Linked DNA regions of Homo sapiens: region 1 is linked to region 2. Evidence: promoter capture Hi-C in human tissues and cell types (Jung and others, 2019). All regions are on one chromosome and are shown on one strand. Each heading gives the region's core, a stretch centred on a gene start or on the middle of the fragment in contact. The rest is flanking DNA. Distances are from core to core; before and after follow the strand shown.

Region 1 (3,844 bases), core at 1,124-3,623, 44 kb before region 2:
GCATTCCAAAACAGATGTCTTGTAAATAATCAAATAATACTTGAGTGTTCTTAGCATAATTACCATGAAAACAGAGGTCTTTTCTGGAGGACATTCAATCTAGCCACCTCCACTCCCCAGACCACTGTTCAGAAGCCAAACGAAAAGCCTTTGAGTAGTCAAAATATAACCTAAAGGCCACGTGTTTTATTCTATAAGAAAGTTCTTTCAGAACTCCAATCCTCAGAGATTCTACTTCAATGATGTAGGGAACGGCCAGGGGTCAGTACTTTTTTGAAAGAGACCCAACATAAACTAATGTGGAACCAGGGTTGAAAACCAATGTCTGTAGCCCTTCCCTTCCAGACTCACAGGACCAGGTTTTACTCTCAATTGCAACAACCTGCTAGTGCTGCTGTTGGCTTATCTTCTATTTCACCTTCCCCTTTAAATACTCCTATGGAACTAGTTCTGAAACAAAAGAAAAGTCCTTCTAGCCTCACTCTCATTTTAGCCACATTTCTAATAAACTTGGCATAGTCTCAATAGACTACAGAAAAACTGCAGCAACATCTGTATATTGGAAGAGGCAAAAAGGGCCGTACTATAGCTGTGAATTTGAAATGTTTGATTACAACTCATATATAAGAAATAAAATTTTCATCACAACCAGGTATGTGTATGTATGTCTATTTATGTGCACACACATATACAAGATAAAAACTTCACAAAACCAAAAGTACCCTTTACTATATGTGATACATTGATATTTTTTGTTCGATTCTAATATTTTTTACAAAATGTTTAAAAACTGTTGGCCCTAACCCACTAAATGATTTTCATGAGCAATTAATGATATGAAACTTGCAGTTTAAAAAATTGTGCTACACAGCACTCCTTAACCTTTCTTCAATTGTTGATCCCTTTGAGACACCAGCGGAAGCAATGACTCTTCTCCTTGGAAAAACACACATGCACATTGAAGTCTGCATACATGTGATATACCAGGTTAAGACTCCCTCTGCAAGCAGAGAAACAATGGCCACTAATAGAAAAGGAAGAGTAGGGAGGGACAAAGAAAGAAAGAAAATAAGTAAGAAGTGATGAAGATAATTATCAAAGTATAAAAATATTTATAGTAAGACCCAAGAGCCCCATGGCTTAGCCGGCCCTGACTGCTTTATTATGGCACTAATTGGGAACGTAGGGTAATAATCAACAGCCAAAATCAGTGTATTCTGTTTTTGATGACAAGGATATATGCAATACATTTTAGAATGATATCTAACCAAAAAGTTAAATATTTTAGCACAGCTTTAATATTATGTAAGTCTCAATAATGTGTAACATTCCTTCGCAAAGGCAGATAAATGAAACATTAGCACACATACACAGAACAGTCAGAATATTTCCAAGTCTGTATATAAAACTTCTTCTAAAAAGTCAGAATAGTTTTAATATCTTTTATATCATAATTCTTCCCAGGGTAAGATAGAGATCTTTAGAAGCCCTAAATCCTGAAGGTTTACATTTCAGTTTCTCATATGATATTAAAATGTATAACTACACCATAAAATACATGTAAGAAAATCCCATAATGACCTATTTTTGCCATCATGTACTTTGATGCTTTTTTTGAAATATCGAATTCTCTCAAAATCTATTTTTAAAGCCTCTGTTTGCTGGGCTCTAACTAGGCATCCAATCTGTCTACCTACCTGCTTCCTTATTTTCTTCAGGATGAATTTCAGTTATTTGTTTACATGTCTCTGGAGTTCCTTAAAAACTCATCCTCAACCTATTGAACAGCTGGCATAGAATATACACATACACACCTTTCTACTAAACTACTCCCAAATCCCCAAGAGATAGATACAAATTCTCTATCTTAATGTCCATAACAAAGGAGCACAAAGAAGTTAAGTGATACGACCACATTAGCTAGCAGAAGTGAAATCAAGACAAGGAGACAAGAATCTGTTCTCTTTTCATTAGAGCATACAATCCATGCCGTCTGTTAGGCCTGGGAAGCTTTGGTAAAAAGCACGCAAGAAGAACGGAGGAAACTTGTGTTGCACAATGCCATATAAAGCATCTTCAACCTTTGTGTAATAAAGCGCTACTCTGTTAGGCAAAAGCCTCCCATTTTACCACCTGAGAAATCCTTCTACCGCCAGGAATAAACAAAACAGAAAAGGAAAAGATCTTCTAGTTATAGGGAAAATGTTTGCTCTCACCAGAAAAGATTCAATCGTAATCATTCTTTAACTTCAGAGAAATAAATCAGGAATGTGGTGATGTAAAAGGCAATATTTATTTAAATATCTTAATACGAATTAGTCTAAAATAACATCAAAGAAATATCAGAGAAGGTATAGGAGTCGTCTGCATCTCCAAGGGTCTCCAAGTCATGTTACTTTTGCCTCTAAAGTATTGGGCTGGTGCAAAAGTAATTGCAGTTTTTGCCATTACTTCCAACGCAAAAATCACAATTGCTTTTGCACCAATCTATAGTTCAAATCCAGGATGGGCCAGGATTCAGGTAAGAATAACCCATCACAAGGCTGCACAATCGCACTGACTGATAGAGTGATTTTAGGCTACAAACCATTTTACATGCAAGCAACAAATTTATTAAGGGCTAACTTTATGCAAAACATCATGCTGGGCATGGTAGGAAAAATACAAAGCTCCCAGTGTCTGTGTGCCTGGGAAGTTTATAATATAGCTTAGGAAGTGAGTCTTTTAGATAGAGAAACATAAAATTTAAGAGTTAACTTCTCTAGACATTAAAACAGATGAAACAGGATGTGATTCCTGGCTAAATGAGCCATTAGTCTGATTATTTTACTGTCTAATGAGTGCTCCAGGGTTATATAAAGAAAGGTCACTATGAACTGCAGAGGTCCGAGAAAGCTCCAGAGAAGACAGACAGCTTGAGCGGTCTAAAAAGATGGGCATGATTTGGACAAAGTTCCCCCCAAAGAGTGACATAAGACGTTAGGTTTCAGGTGATAGCTGAATGCCGCCCAGCCACCACCTTTCTTTCTTCTTTTTTTTTTTTTTAAGCTAAGCTATCTTCTTCAAAATATATTTTTTTAAGTACAATTTGCCAGGGACTCAAACAGATATCTGCACACCCATGTTTATAGCAGCATTATTCACTATACCCAAGAGGAGGAAGTCACCCAAGTGTCCAGCGACAGATGAATAGATAAATAAAATGTAGATACGTACAATGGAACACTGTTCAGCCTTAAAAAGGAAGGGAATTCTGACACATGCTAGAATACAGATTAAAACACAGACAGAGGCACAAAGGCCTACCCAAGCACATACCAAAGACAGAGAATGGAACAGCTTCCCTAAAACAAAGACATCCCCTGAGTAGTTACGACTGGAATAAAAAATTCTTGCTAAAGCCAGGAAAAAAAAAAAAAAAAGACTGAGATCAAACTGTAGAGAGCCTTTGAACTTCACGTAAGCAGTCTGAGCTTGAGTCCAAAAGCAGTTTTGAAGTGAAAAGTCAGTGGGGGATGAGGGGCTTAGATGATGAAACTGATGGGATTTGAACCCACATCATTCTGACCTAAGTATAGTATTTAAGCTCTTTACTCAGATTCTACCTATGTCATTTCATAATAATAATTCTTCAATGTATTTGAAATATTGTGTAAGTCTTGGCTCCAAATTAGCTGGCAAAATTCTCTAGTTTTGTGTGAACGTGGGCACATTATTTAACTTTTCCACATCCCAGTTTCCTCACCTTTTTTTTTTTTGAGACGGAGTTTCACTCTTGTTGCCCAGGCTGGAGTACAATGGCGCGATCTTGGCTCACTGCAACCTCCACCTCCCTGGTTCAAGC
Region 2 (3,510 bases), core at 80-2,579:
TGTTGTACTATATTATACTATAAAACAATTTTACGTCAAAATTGATTCTATAAAATTTGTCTCCTACCCATTCCAGCCAATATCCACTAGCTACACACACAGACCCAGAGGCACACACATACACACCAATACCATAGTTCATAGCAAAATTTTTTCAAATCTCAAAAAAAAAGGGGGGGGGGCTTCTTTCACTGTAACTAAGAAGATTTGCTTTGAGCAATCTAACATTGGGAACGCCTAGAAACTCAAGAAGCACACAACTTGTTGCAGCAATAAACGCTGGGCCGAAGCCTGAACAAAGCACTACAAATAAGCTCTAGAAACTCACATGGCCCTTGAACAAAATGTTGTGTGTTTGTAGTTACCTCTCCAGCGCGCTCTCATCACCCTCTCCCAACCCTCTCCCCAACTCTCTTCCCGGCCCCACCACCCTTCGTAGCTCCCGTCTCTAATCTGGTTTCCATTCCAGCCCCGCCCCCTTCCCCTTCCCTCTCTGGGACCGTGAATCAATCCCATCCCGGGCAGGAAACGAGACCCAGGGCAACCCCCTCCGCTGCGGCGGAACAAAGGAGGCGAGCGCAGCTGCACGCGCAGGGAGGCCCACAGCGTCCCGGGCCCCTCCTCCCCCGCCGCCGCCGGGGCACACCGCACCTGAACCCCACTCCCCAGGACGCCCCATTGTTCTCCCTCCGCTTTCCTGCCCGGAGGAAGCCACACCGTGTCTTTCCAGGGGGCCAGGAAACAGCTGTGGGCCAGAGGAATGGAGGGGCTGTGGGTGAACACGAGGACAGCCGAGATTCGACTCTGCCCACAGGTACGAGAGGCATGGGGCAAAGTAAGAGCAACTTAGTTTACAAGCCCTTCTTCCCTCCCGCCACCCCCGAAGCCACTGCGGAGTCACGACCACCCTCCGCAACCTACAGCGTGCGCCGTTCCCGCCGCAGCGCCGCGTCTCCCAAGAGAGCGGCAGAGCCCGCTGACCCCCGCCCGCAGGGTGCGACGGGGCCAGGGACCGCGGGCACAAAGGCGCGGAGCAGGCGCCTCGGGGGCCGACGACGGACGCAGAGGGAAGGGCAGGGGAGAGAGAGAGAAAGCGCTCGCGCTACCTCGCCTGGCGCTACCTCGCCGGGCGCCACTCCGCCTCCACGTCGTCCTCGCTCTCCGGTGGCGCTCCGGGACGCGGGCCCAGCCCGGGGCTGCGGGGCTCCCGCCGCGGCTGTTCTGCCAAGGCTGTCCCGCGGCTGCCGGCCGACTGCGCGCCGCGCGCTCTGGTACTGCCTCCACGCGCCGCGGTTGAGGCTCCCGTGCGCACCCAGCTGCGGAGTGCTCAGCGGCGGCGGGAGGAGCCCGGCCACTCCCCTCTCGCCCGCTGGCGGAGGGGCCGGCCGAGGGGCGGGGGCGGCGACCTCGCTGCCTGGGATTCGCCCCTCGGCGCGCGGGCAGGAACGGGAGCCACCGCCTCCGAGCCGACTCACCTCTGTCCGCCCGGTGCCGGCTTCACAGCGCCCCCCGGTGAGCGTCGCGGCGGCCTCCGCGCCTTGCGGGTTTGCGGCCCGACCCTCCGCACCCGGGGCGAGCCTGGATGGGACGAGGCTTGAGGGAAGGAGGGGCGATCGTCGCGGCCCCCACGGAAGGCAGTCTTTCTACCTTTTTTGCTTCCAGACTCACTGACATAAAATGAGAAATACAACATTTGACAACTCGAAGCCAGCCTGGGGTCACATTCCGGCAAACAGTGGGAGTAAGTCTCAATTTTTCCTCCTCCCCAAGATGAAAATTTTTGGATGCCGAGAATATCAGAAAATATTAGTTTCACAGAAAAAGAAAAAAATTATACTGAGTGGTGTGGTGTGTCTTCATTTACAAGACTTTTAGTATCTTTTAAATTACTTAATCTCACATTGTGGGAAATAGACACTGGCCAATTCTTTGTGTTATAAATACATGAGAGGTAGTTTAAAAGAAATTTCAAATACCCATACGTATTTGAATAGAGTGTATTAACAGGTCCTGAGTAATGATCAGTGATGGGGTATATTATACAGGCATGTAGGGGCCAGAGAATCAGGACACCCCCCCTACACACACACACACACCTTCTCACTCAAGCCCTATTGCCTCATTGGAGAATTTAGAACAATCCTCTTGACCCAGGTCCTGGTTTCTTCATCCTCGCACAGGGAAGGGTGCGCATTCAAACTTACTCACTGGGTGAGATGAGGATTACTTGGCTGAGGTGTTAAAAGCACTGTAGACACAGTAATTATTACTCATGGTTCTAACTACTTTATCCTATAATGAAATAAATTGCCATAAATGGGCCAGGTTTAAATGGACTGACCTGTATCTGGAAACTGTCACTAAAGTGAGGTGAACCAAAGAATTCAGACCATATATAGTAACTGTTCCCACTGGCATAAGAACCACAGGCGCTGGGATTTGTTAAATGCCACTAGTAGAGTTTGGAAAGGTGGGACCTTCACAGACTATATCTGCTGGGAACTGTCTCATCATTGATGTCACCATCAGCATCACTTCAGATGTACAAGTGGTGTGATAATGGGCGAAACTAACACATACTGGGTACCAGGGACTGTTCTTTGTTTAATCCTCACAAAAAGCTCTGAGGTAAGTTTCTCTCATTATCCTTGTTTTACAGACCAGCAAAGCCAAGGACAGAGAGGTCTTCAGGGAATACATGGCTATGGTGGTTTGAAGACTCCCATTAGAGAGTGGATATTAATTGCCCTCCTTTTGAATATGGTCTGGACTTAGTGATTTGATTGTAACAAATAGAATACAGCAGATGTGATGCTATGTGACTTCCAAACCTAGGTCATAAAAGGAGATGAAGTTTTCACCTGGCTCTCCCTTGGGACACTCACCCTTGGAACCCAGCTGCCATATTGTGAGGAAGCTCAAGCCACAGGGAAGGCCATGTGTAGGTGTTTGGGCTGATGGTGCCAGCTGAGGACCTGGTCTACTGCCAGTACAACTTATATCAAGCATGTGAGTTGGCGAGCTTTTGAAAGAACTCCAGCCACAGTCACTGACCACGCTGCCTGAGAGACCTAGAGAGAAAACCTAGCTGAGCCAAATCAGGCCCCGGAAACGTAAGTGATAATAATAAAAGATTGTCATCTGGGTGGTTGTTACATAGCAATAGACACCTAGAACAGTGACAGAGCTGGAATTTGAACCCAGATAGTCTGACTCTATAGTCTTCACTATCAAGCACACTACCTCAGACCTTGATAACCTAGCATAATGAAAACCCTGGAGATCCCAGCCTTCACAATAGGCAACATATGAACCTGCTACCTGGTGACGTGTGTTAGACTCACTTCTCCATTTTGCTTGTCTGAGTTTAGGTTCCCAAGTGACTGCTTATAGCAGTTTGGCAGTTCATGGAACTTCTGACCTCTACTGTCCAGTTCAGCTTTTCAAAAATAGCAGAAATGCAGATGGCAGGTTCATGAATATAAGATGTATACAAATTGAAGAGTGGGG

What was found. The method cuts DNA at HindIII sites, captures the fragments that hold promoters and counts their contacts. A contact is called where the count stands out against the background at its distance.
Region 1: a fragment that was not itself captured here is called in contact with the fragment with the promoter of MYO1B in region 2 in 1 of the 25 tissues and cell types used here (liver).

Annotation. Positions count from the first base shown.
Region 1 is chr2:191,287,445-191,291,288 of GRCh38, reverse strand. All of the region lies in intron 2 of MYO1B (myosin IB), which reads right to left. Among named protein-coding and RNA genes, the nearest start is that of MYO1B-AS1, 43 kb to the right of the region's middle. The HindIII fragment of the contact is 7,493 bases long and covers 1-3,844 here.
Region 2 is chr2:191,243,223-191,246,732 of GRCh38, reverse strand. It overlaps MYO1B (myosin IB), which reads right to left and starts at 1,329. Exons shown (of 31, transcript NM_001130158.3): 1 at 1,107-1,329. It overlaps MYO1B-AS1 (MYO1B antisense RNA 1), which reads left to right and starts at 558. Exons shown (of 4, transcript NR_186085.1): 1 at 558-814; 2 at 2,660-3,113. RefSeq lists a silencer at 1,019-1,408 and an enhancer at 821-1,443. The HindIII fragment of the contact is 14,933 bases long and covers 1-3,510 here.